3 separate regions of the Homo sapiens genome follow, and all the other regions are linked to region 1. Evidence: promoter capture Hi-C in 16 types of primary human blood cells and fetal thymus (Javierre and others, 2016). All regions are on one chromosome and are shown on one strand. Each heading gives the region's core, a stretch centred on a gene start or on the middle of the fragment in contact. The rest is flanking DNA. Distances are from core to core; before and after follow the strand shown.

Region 1 (3,992 bases), core at 451-2,950:
CAAAAATTAGTCCCACGTGGTGGCCGGCGCCTGTAACTCCAGCTACTTGGGAGGCTGAGGCAGGATAATCGCTTGGACCTGGGAGGTGGAGGTTGCATGCAGTGAGCCGAGATCACACCACTGCACTCCAGCCTGGGTGACAGAGTGAGAGTCTGTCTCAAAAGAAAAAAAAAAAAAGAGAGAGAGAGAGAGAGACAGAGAGAGACTGCTATACGGATAGAGAAGATGGGATTCTCTCTCTCCCTCTTTGTCTCTGTCTCTCTCTCTGAAGGAGCAGATAAGCCTGAAGGTGCAAGTCCTATTTATCGTCCATACTAAGAACCAGTAAACACAGAGAGAAAAACAGCTAAGATATACAAGAGAGAGAACTAGCCCTGGAACCTTGTATGAGCCTCTGGAACTAGCTATAGCTTTAAACTGAAACCCTCGACCTTTTCATTTATGTGACCCAATCAATTTCTACATAGTATAAGGCAATTTTCAAGTGACCAAAACCCAACCCAAAGAAAACAATTCTGACAAATACGATGGGTAATGATGAGGGCAGTCTGACAACACCCCCTCCATCTGCAGGGCCCGTGCACTGGCAGCCCTAATCTTGGCCTCTGTGATGCTGTCAGCAAGTAAGGCATCCTGGAGGAAGCCTAACCATGAACAAGTCAGGGTGGGAAAGAATGCCCCCACCCCACAACACACACATCACCACATCAACACAAAGGGGGAAAAATCAAGCAGTATGCTATGTACTCCATGAACATCATATAACCTAAGTCTGTTGTAATGATTATAATATTAATAATACCTATTTTACTTTAAGGGAACTGAGGCTCAGAGCAGTTCAGTAACTTGCCCAAGGTCACACAGCTAGTTACTGGAATTTAAATAGCATTCTAGACTTTTCCCACTCTCTGATCCCCTGGCCTTGGGAGGTGGACAGCACCCCTCCACCCACCAGCTCCCCCCAAACGCCACAGGGCATACAGACCTGAAGCCTCACAACCCAAGCCCCCTGGAGTCAGAGCAGCCTCCAGACCCGGCTTTTGAGAAGCCCCAGGTAACTAACCAATGTGTAAGGTAGGTTATTCAACAACAAAAGTAAAGAGCCGGGGCAAGGGAAGCGGCGGCACCCAAGCTGGTCGCGCGTGAAGCGCTGCAGGGGGAAACACTGGAGCTGGCACGCTCGCTCTTGGCCCCACGATCGGCCTTGAACCCCAGCCCCAGCTCCGCGCTCTCTCCAGCAGTTTGACCCCCAGTATCTCCTCTCCCCTCGGCTCTGCCGAAGTCACTGGCCCCGCAGGGCTCTGGACGATTAGAGACCCACACCGCTCCAGCCTTGCCCCGGCCCCCTGCTCCCGTCCCGTCCAGATGTTGGCAGCTGCTCGCCTCGAGGCAGCGACCAGACCCCGACCCCGCCACTGCGCCGCGGCCCCGCGGCCCCGCGGCCCCGCGGCCCCGCGAGCTCCTGGCTGCCCCAGCGCGCCCAGAAGGGGCGCAGCGCATCTCCCGCCGCAGTCGCGCGGCCCCGCACTCGCTCCGGCGCGGGGTGAGCCGTCCCGAACCCACCACCGCCCCCGCCTGCTGCGCTGGCCCAGCTCACCTCGCCGCCCGCGCCCACCGAGCCTCTCGGCGCCCTCACCCGGCTCCCGGCCCAGGCTCCCAGCGCACCCGCCTGGGGCCGGCGTTGGCTGCTACCGCGCGGGGCGGGGCGCGGCTCCTCCCTGCCCTGAACCACCTGGGGCGCGGGAGGGGGCCGGGCCGGGACAGGTGAGCCTCGCCCGCGAGGGAGCAGCCCCGGGCCCGGCTCCGCTGGGAAACCGCAGGGCTCCACCACGAGGTTGAAAGGAGGCCCAGGCGGGCGGCAGTGTGGTAGTGGCCAGCGCTGGGGAGGCGGCAAGGAGCCTGTTCCCACCCAGCCAGCCCGGCTCAGGAAGTGAAAGAAGCACGGGATTCGGACCCCACCCAGCTTAAAGAGGGGAGGGTCCAACCCCTTTCTTCCTAGAAAACCAATGTAGAAACGAGGAGTGCAGACCCTCGGGAGTGAAAATGATTGGGCCAAGGGTGCAGGTGAGTTAGTTCAGGATTGGAAGAACTCTGAAAGACCTTTTTTGACCATTCCATCCAACCCCGTCCCCACCTTGCCCACCCGTCAAGTGATTCCCTCCCCCTTTTTAAATAATGACATTAAGCTATAAATAAGATAATTTCATATAGTGACGTCCTCCCCACCCCTGGACGGTAAGCCCCAGGAGAGGCAGGAACCTTACCCGTCCACTACTGAATCACCAGAGCTTTGAAAACTCAGGGCATTTAATACCTGATGAACAGACTAGGTGGCGCCCAGTCTTTTGCGTCCAGCGTTAGACTGGTCCCCTCGGCCCAGAGCTGCTCCAGCATCATTCCAAGCTTACTAGGGAGAATCCAGAGGCAAGCTGTTAGATTCCGGGCCACCTGTCCTCTCTCTACTGCTTACTCCCCACCCACTGCCAGCCAGGCAGCTGGGATGTGGGAGGTCTACACTCCCAGGGCACCTTATAGTGGTCAAGCAAATCTTTAACTTCTGAAGATGCCACAGACAGGAGAACTCTGAAATAAAACACTGTCCGGCCAGCCTTGCACTGTGGAAACACAGCTCAGAGTATGGGCCACTGACCCAAGATTCCATGGCTGGTAGCAAAGCTGATCCTGGGTCTGCATTTCTAAAGACAGTTGGCTGGTCTGGGGCCTTTGAGGGGCTGCTGGTTATGCCTGCAGTGGGGAAACCTGGGTACAGAACTTCTGCAGAAGTGGGGTCTGGGTTTGGTCCTCTGCTGAGACTTCTAATCTGTCTTTCCAGACCTCTGAGGTCAAGCATCTCCTGAGCCAGCTTGCATTTATTGAGGCCCCTGACAACCGCAAAAACAAAAACAATGGTATTTTTAGGTGTTCCATTTAACAAATGGCCTTCACTCACACACACACACACACACACACACACACACACACACACACACGAGGTAATGTGTCATGCTGCTCCTCACATGTTAATTTCAAGACTCGTTAAAAAAATCCATTCCGTGAAAAAATTCATTTCACTGCAGAAAGCACTGTACAACTTTAAAGTTGTATGGAGAACATTCCTTCTTATGACTATTTCAGTACACTTCCGTGACTATATATTAAACCTCCAAGGCCAAAATGGGAGGATCTCTATTAAGGTGAGGTCAGGGCCAAGAAGACTGCTCCACCCCTCCACTGACAACAAGCCCAACACTCTTAAGGTCTAGACACCCCACCCCTTCAGTGGGTTCTGCACATATGGGTATTTCAGATCTGGTGTTACCTGGCTGGCTACGTCACACTGGGCAAGGCCAACCTAGAAAAGGTTATATGGGATGCCCCACCTAGGTGTGCCCTACCTCAGTTGCTACTCCCTCTATGGTGGCAGGGAATCTGGTGTCCCAGGGTGGAGCTGTGGTGGGGCCTGCACTTTGGGACAGCCACTTGCACCAGCAGGTAGGGCTGAGCAAAGGAGCACCTCTGGGTCTCACTCACATGAAATGGACCTAGACCTTTTTTTGTGTTGGTTTCAGTCAGTAGAGCATGTGATCCCCTGTGATTTAAAATCCTGCTGCTGTGCGTGTGATCTTGGCTGGGCCAGCCTGCTAAGTGATGCCACCCAGACAGGCCTGAGAATCATCAGGAGGGTACAGGTTCTGCCCCAGTGCTTGCTTGCTTGCACGTGATCTCTCCCTCCCCACCCCACTCTCTCTCCTGTGCTTGCTGAGCAGCCTTGGGCATGTTCCTCAATTGTGTGTTTTTCCTACTTGGAAAATGTGCAGCCATGAAATCAGACAAGATCTCTGTTTGAAGTTTTTTGCTTAAAAGGGGTATCTGAAATAAGAAGTTCTGATACTGTTGTGTGGCTAAGTTAAATAATCCACGTAAAGTGCTTGAGCACAGCGCCAGCACAAAGCACCTGCTCAGTGAACAGTAGCTCTGCCTAGCAGTGCAAA
Region 2 (3,992 bases), core at 488-2,987, 480 kb before region 1:
AACATGCTGTTTTGGTGACTATGGCCTTATAGTATAGTTTGAAATCAGGTAATGTTATGCCTCCAAATTTGTTCTTTTTGCTTAGTCTTGCTTTGGCTATGGAGGCTCTTTTTAAGTTTCATATGAATTTTAGAATTGTTTTTTCTAATTCTGTGAAGAATGATGGTTGTATTTGATGGGGATTGCACTGAATTTGTAGATTGCTTTTGGCAGTATGGTCATTTTCACACTACTGATTCTACCTATCCATGAGCATGGGATGTGTTTCCATTTTTTTGTGTTGTCTACAATTTCTTTCAGCAGTGTTTTGTAGGGTTACTTGTAGAGGTCTTTCACCTCCTTGGTTAAGTATATTCCTAAGTATTTTCTTTTTCAGCTATTGTGAAAGGCTATGAGTTCTTGATTTGATTCTGCGCTTGGTCGCTGTTGGTGTATAGAAGAGCTACTGATTTGTTTACATCAGTATTGTATCTGGAAACTTTGCTGAATTCTTTTATCAGTTCTAAGAGCTTTCTGGAGGAGTCTTTAAGGTTTTTGAGTTAAACAATAATATTATCTGCAAGCAGTGACAGTTTGACTTACTTTTTACAGATTTGGATGTCCTTTATTTTTTTCTCTTGTCTGATTGCTCTGGCTAGGACTTCCAGTACTATGTTGAAGAGGAGTGGTAAGATTGGGCATCCTTGTCTTGTTCCAGTTCTCAGAGGGAATGCTTTCAACTTTTTCCCATTCAGTATTATGTTGGCTGTGGGTTTGTCATAGGTGGCTTTTATTACATTGAGGTATGTCCCTTGTATGCTGATTTTGCTTAGAGTTTTTATCATAAAGCGATGCTGGATTTTGTTGAATGCTTTTTCTGCATCTATTCAGATGATCATGTGATTTTTGTTTTTAATTATGTTTATGTGGTGTATCACATTTGTTGACTTGCATATGTTAAACCATCTCTGCAACCCTTGTATGAACCCCAGTTGATCATGGTAGATTATCTTTTTGACATATTGTTGGATTCGGTTAGTTAGTATTTTGTTAAGCATTTTAGCATCTATGTTCACCAGCAATATCTGTCTATAGTTTCCTTTTTTGGTTATGTCCTTTCCTGGTTTTGGTATTAGGGTGATAATGGCTTTATAGAATGACTTAGGGAGGGTTCCCTCTTTCTCTATCTTGTCGAATAGTGTCAATAGGATTGGTAACAATTCTTCACAGCAGACTTTTTCAATATTTGTGATCACCAGATTCCTTTCTCACCGCCATCCTGTTAATAATTAATACTAGAATCTTACTTGGAATCTATACACTTCCCAATGATCTTTAGTGAAAAAATGCTGCTTCTTCATTTTGAGAACCAGAATCACATTTGTCCATTCCACTTTTTAATACCTTTCCCCTCTACAATTCCCTCATTGGAGAAACAATTCATTCCTCCTTGGAGCCTCAGAGCTCATTGAAACCTCGTGAAACAGCTCTTGCTCTGCCTTCTATTAAGGTTGTTTATTTAGATAGACATCATATTCCTTTACCCCCACCCCCAAGATATTCACACTTGATTATACATTCCTTGGTAACAAAAGACATTGCTTTTTTTTTTTTTTTTGCAGTGCCTTACACCATATATTTTCCTGCAGTGCCTTACACCATATATTTGAAAGACTGAATTGAACTAAAGTGCACAAAGGAAGAAAATTAGTTTTATCTATGCAGTCTCAAAATTATTTTTGGTCAAATTGGATTTTTTTCATCTATCTTAATGTCTAATTTGTTCATAGTTGAATCAGTCTTGCAGTTAATCTGATGTGGCCGTTAAGACTACTGAAGACAGTAAATTCATTTTCCTCATCTGGTGATTTTTAATCATATAGTCACAACCACTCACACAGAAAAATAAAACAGCAGACTAAATAGCAAACTAATAGCAGAATGATGAATGGAATTATCCCTAGGCCCAAAGGCTATTATACATAATCTACAGTCTCTGTCTAATTCATTCATTCAGCTTTGATTCAACACCCTTTTGTTAAGTGACAATAATAGTTACCAGTTACTGAATCCTTCCTATGGGCTAAGCACTTGAATAAGACAGTAATGTGGTGGCTACCAATATCGGGCTTGCCTTGAGTCCTGGCAACACCAGTTATTATTTGTGCAACCATAAGCCAGCTACTTCATTTTAAAACAAGTTATCATAAATATTAGTTATACCACTATTGTTAAAATATATTATCTCATTGAATCCTCACAACAACCTTGTGAGCCACTTTAATTTCTTCCTACTTTAATAATTTGCAAGGTACTGGGTGCTGGATGCTGTAGGATTTATAGAAATGACCACGTCTATAAATGACCTGATCCTGCCCTCAAGGACTTTACAATGAAGTAAAAAGGACTGAATTTTACATAATTAATTATAATCAAAAGCAGAATGAAATATTTCCCATAGCAATGTGAATGCAAAATGTTGGAGAGCACAGAGGATTCAACGGATGATGGCTTTATATAAAAGGTAGAATATGAGTTGAAACTGGAGGGGTGAAAAGGATTTGCAGAGTCATAACAGGGGTAAAGGACAATCCACAAAAGTGAGGGAGCCACAAAAGCAAAGCATGGCAGCATAAAAAAGCATTAGGGGTGCAATGCTGACCAGGGAGTGTTTCTCAACCTGCCGGCTGTAAGAATTATTTTACTGTGGCCCTACCAGGATTATTTTTGTATATGGAGTATATCAGCAAGACAATTAGAGTGCATCACACATAGAAAAGTTAAGGTTGGTTTTGTGAAATTTTTTTCAATGATATGTATGAGTATTGGGTCATAATGTAAAACATACTTCTTATTGTGGGTTGTGGTCTAATAAGTGGGGAAGGCGCTCATCTAGAGAGGTTGGAACCTAAGTCATGAAGAGAGATGGATTGTGGGGATGAGGCTGGTGTCCTAGAAAAATCATGTCTAGAAAAATAACGCTGTGGGATGATGTATTTACATTTTAGATGAAGAATGGAAGAAAGGAAACAAGTTAGGGAAAGCTGCAACAGTCTGTGCCAGCACATCCCAAATTGCTGTGAATCAAGCCTGTTCTGGGAGTTATTAGTAGGCATGAGGAGGGGAAAGTCTTTGGGTGAGCAAATACAGGCATTGTAACATGTAGATACAAGTGGGTCTATGGTAAAGCTAAGGAAGCTAAATCTTCTTGTTTTCATAAGTCCCTTCCAAGGCTCTGTTCTGAATTTTGTGTTCATAATTCTGTGTTCTTTTTCTTAAAAAGGACCTTCAGATTGTATAAACTTTGATACCCATCAAACGTGAATCTTCCTCAGCTTGTATATAAATTTAAGTAGGTGGCTTTTTCACAAAATAGGGCTTCTCAGAGACTTTAAGCTACTGATGTGCAGGCCGGGAGCGGTGGCTCACGCCTGTAATCCCAGCACTTTGGGAGGCTGAGGCAGGCAGATCACAAGGTCAGGAGTTCGAGACCAGCCTGGCCAACATAGTGAAACCCTGTCACTACTAAAAATATAAACATTAACCGGGCATGTGCCTGTCGTCCCAGCTACTCAGGAGGCTGAGGCAGGAGAATCGCTCTGTTGCCCAGGAGATGGAGATTGTGGTGAGCCAAGATCATGCCAGCCTGGGCAACAGAGCGAGAGACTCAGTCTCAAAATATATATACTCGGTCTCAGTATATATATACTGATGTGCATTTTGAATACCCCTGAGATAGTAATATTATACGTTCTCCTCTTTCCTCAAACTCCCACACCTCTCCCTTAACCCTTCCTCTCAACTGTCACTCACACCTCACATTTCACGAGCAACACAGAAGCCATTCAATGCAATTTCACTCATTGTCTCACCAATAAACCTACTGTATTGCTGTCAAAATTTATATCACAGCCCATGTTTAGGGAAAGGGTGACTTTTTTTCTTTATGTCTAATTGACCCCATCTTTCTCTGAAGTTCTCATTTCCACACACACACAAAAAAATGATAACAA
Region 3 (3,992 bases), core at 1,049-3,548, 450 kb before region 1:
TGCGGCTCAGCGGCTTCTGTGGAAGGTGGGAGGGAACTGTGCCCGGAGTTGGCCTCTTTTCTTCTGCAAGCCCACGTGTAGTGAATGTTCTGTTTCTGGTACACAAGCCGACAAAAAGCCTTTTGATTTTTTTTTTTTTCATCCCAAAGACCCAGAATTTTCTGAGTCTAAGACAAGCTGCCGTGTTCCACTGAACTTCCCAGGGAGAACTTTGCTGTTTGGGCAGAGCAGATTGTTTCCTATCTTTCCAGTCTCATTGGTTGGAAGTGCTAGAATTTCCCAAATTAAAGTGTTTTTCCCCCTGTTGATTTTGCCATTAGCGACAACAGCAGCTTCTCTAGGAAGTTGGAAAACCTTTCATAAAATATTTCCAGAATGTGGGTGTAGCCTAGAGCCTGCCTGTGGTTATCTTATTTCAGAGGAGCAAGACAAGAGTTTCACAGTTGCAGAGAAAAAAACAACAGCGTTTCATGGAAACATGGTGCTCAGCAGGGGTGTTGCTCTGAAGGAAAGAAATTCGACTAGAGAAAGTGATTAAAATGCTCTATTAACACTGGAAATGTAGAATAAACTGGATATTGCATCCATTTGGTTTTAGCGCATTCAATACATGACGTTATTTCAGCTCACAAAAGAGCATTCTGTACATAAAAATAATTCCCTTTCAATACCAAATGTACACGCTGTTGAGAATTCAACATGCCATTCTTATTTGCTATTATCATAGGTCACGACAGTGCCTCTAACTTACTATGTGACCTGGGATAAGTCATATCTCCTCTTTGTGTATCCATGTTCTCCTCTATCAAATGAACTGAGGATGTTTGGTTTAATTATTTCTGAGGTCCCTTGTCACATTTTAACAATAGAAATCTTGCTGCTTCTGTGTACATTTGGTCATTTGAATCTGCTAGTTTTGAATCATCTGCTAGTTTTCATTTGAATCTGCTAGTTTCCTTGAGCCAGTTTTACTACTTCTTTATTATTACTATTTATTGATATGCGGGCTTTGAAAGTAGGTATTTTCTCTTATTTAACAGTTGCTGTTATATTGAAACCTGATATTGATTGTCCCTAAAATGATATTTCTAATTTGTAGATTTTCTTAACAAAAATTCAGAATACAGAGTTGCAGAATCTAAAAGGGATGGGGTGGGGTGGGGAGGGGATGAGGTTTTTCTTCTGCCTGAAGATGGCAAGTGAGTTAATCCATGTTTCCAAAGAAAATAATCATAAAGCTACTCTTAAGAGAATTTCAGCATCTGTCCTGCATCATAAGGCAAGAGTGTTGATTTCCAATGTGCTCCCAGAGTCTATTCTTCATAAGCCAGGACCTAAGCAACAGAAGTTGGTGGTGTGATAGCGACCTCTCTGTTGGTGAATAAAGGGAAGGAAGTAAAATCAGTCACATCAGCATCAACATAGCTGCATGTGGCAGGGCTGAGAAAGGCTCTCTAAGCTTGCAGGTCATTTGATTCATGATCTGTCACACGGTAGATGCCTCAAGCCTTCAGAAGAAGTGTGTGCTGCACATATAGTCAATGGCCAGTGTTGAATCTCTCCTGGAAGGTAAAATGACTTGTCCCATGAGCAGCCTTCCTCCCAAATAATTCCAGAATGGGCAAGGGCATTAACTCATCTTATCCAAATGTCTCCGACTTTTCTCCACTGAGTTAACATAAACATTCTTGTTAATATTTCCAAATGAGAAAAAAAGAGATCTCAAAGATAAAATATTGATGGGATACCAAGTTTAGAGAGGCTTTGCAGATACAGACATTCTCATACACTGTTGGTATAAGCTTAAATTGGCACCTCTTTCAAGAGGGTAACTTGGTAACATAGAACACAGCTATAAACGCATAAAATAATTCCATTTCTATTAGTTATCCCACAGTTACCTCTAGAGGGTGCACAGATGTTTATGGCATAATTGTTTATAATAGCAAAATCTAGACACAACTTTTAGAACACACTGAATTTGAGTAAGTAGGGGATGAGTTAAATAAATTATGGCCCATCTATACAATGGAATACATACAGCCACTTAGAAAACAAAATGAATCTACATGTGCTAGCAGCAAAAGATGTTCCATATGTACTAATTTTAAAAGGCATATTGCAGATCTTGTTTTCTACATGTATATATGAATTCATTCACATAATTATATAAATACATGCAAAATTGTATATGCATTAGAAAATATTTAAAAAGTATACTCAAGAAATTATTAATAGCAGTTATTGCTGAAGAATGGGAAGAGATGGAGTGGAAAGGGAGAATGGTTTTACTTTTCTACAGAACAATTTCAAATTTCAATGCTCATGCATTACTTTTATATAAAAAGATTTTCAAAGTAAAAAACTAGAAACACCTAAAAAATAAGAAAGAGGAAATGATGAAATAAATTATGGCGCAATCATAAAATGTAATACTAACCAACCATTAAAAATTATTTCCTACAGTTCTACTTGCTGACAGAAAAATGTGATATATTGGTAAATTTTCAAGGCAGTTTACAAAACAAAAAGAGAAAGAGGGTGAGCCTGATAAGCACCGGAGCCCCTTAGGGGTGCATTCCAAGTCATGGTCTTTGTCACACCAGTGCCAGCACAGTGCCCAGCACACCCGTCAAGAAAGGACTGCTCATTTGATGCTCGCACATGCCTGCACCTGCACATGCTATGGGCTTACATTGCTGATGGCTGACCCTCGCAACAAGCTCATTTATCCCATTTTACAAGCAGAAGATTGAAGAAGATTAGGGAGAGTGTTTTAACTAGCGAAGCTTGAATCCGAACCTAGATTTGTCTTTTCAAACAGGAATATTTGTGAGACAATTAATCAACACATCAAAAAACATTCGAATGAACTGCAGAAAGATTATAGGACTACACTTGAGTTAGTACAAGAGTGAATGTGGAACTCATAATTCAGGAAGAGATCATTACCTTATCGAAACACCTGAGCAGTGAGGGGGCATGGTCTTTAGACCAGGTATTGAGTTCCTGATTTCTTGACTTCAGGTATATAACTGGAAATAAATATTGAAAGGATCATTAATAATCACATAGTTCACTGTTTTTCAAACTATAAGTTTTAACCCATTAGTGGAGTCATGAAATCAATATTGGTGTGTTGAAATTAAGACTTTTAAAAAATAGTAAACTGGAACAGAATGGAATAGAGACAATATTCAAGTGTAATATAATAATGAATACTGTGAAGGTCTATATCTTTTTGTGAAATGTATTTCAGTTGCATTTTTATATACATTAGAAATATGTGCATTGAGTCACACTACAAACTATTAGGATGAATGGCAGCCAGAAATGTTTTAAAACCCCTGATTCAATGTCTACTCCTTCACCAGTTGGTGACCCTGAGGTCTGGCGGGATTAGGTGGCTCCTTTAGGCCATAGTGTCTTTGCCTGCAGAACCTGGCTCCATATTGTGCTTCCCATGTACATTTTGTGTTTTAATGTTCCCATCTTTCAAATGGGGCTAATTTTGAGCTCACCTTTCTGACAGGGCCATTAGGGGAATGAAATTATCTTAAAATGCTTTGAAAAGATAAAACCTATAAATATGGAAACTCTACCCCATAAGACTTGCCGTGCTATTAATACAGGATGAGCTGCTGGGCTCTGGCAGGATCCAAAGTCACTGGCTCAGCGTCAGACAAACAGAGCAGGTTTCATGACCTGGAGAGTGAGAATTCCAGGTCCACATATGCTGACAGCTTAGAAAAAATGTTTCCAATCCCTAAATGGCTCACAGGTAGAGAGGAAAGCATGTGGCACAGGACCAGCAATGCAACATGGCAATGAGTACTTACAGAGCATTCCACATCACTGTCCTCCAAACGCCTGAAAGCAATTCCCTTTCAACTGCAATCCTTGCTCTATCTGCAACCCTTTAGCCTCAACAGGTGTACTAAATTGATAAGAAAGTTGCAATTGTGATTCACCTTAATGCTTTTTCCAGTGCC

The links. The method cuts DNA at HindIII sites, captures the fragments that hold promoters and counts their contacts. A CHiCAGO score of 5 or more calls a contact.
Region 2: a fragment that was not itself captured here is called in contact with the fragment with the promoter of LYPD6B in region 1 in 1 of 17 cell types (naive CD8 T cells); the score reaches 5.4 in naive CD8 T cells.
Region 3: a fragment that was not itself captured here is called in contact with the fragment with the promoter of LYPD6B in region 1 in 1 of 17 cell types (endothelial precursors); the score reaches 5.3 in endothelial precursors.

What each region holds. Positions count from the first base shown.
Region 1 is chr2:149,036,407-149,040,398 of GRCh38, reverse strand. LYPD6B (LY6/PLAUR domain containing 6B) reads right to left here and starts at 1,700. Exons shown (of 7, transcript NM_177964.5): 1 at 1,598-1,700. RefSeq lists enhancers at 1,208-1,267, 1,308-1,357, 2,571-2,630 and silencers at 1,438-1,597, 1,608-1,947. The HindIII fragment of the contact is 3,848 bases long and covers 1-2,405 here.
Region 2 is chr2:149,514,710-149,518,701 of GRCh38, reverse strand. No RefSeq gene overlaps it. Among named protein-coding and RNA genes, the nearest start is that of MMADHC-DT, 71 kb to the left of the region's middle. The HindIII fragment of the contact is 8,367 bases long and covers 1-3,992 here.
Region 3 is chr2:149,485,306-149,489,297 of GRCh38, reverse strand. It overlaps a transcript of LYPD6 not described here. Among named protein-coding and RNA genes, the nearest start is that of MMADHC-DT, 100 kb to the left of the region's middle. The HindIII fragment of the contact is 987 bases long and covers 1,805-2,791 here.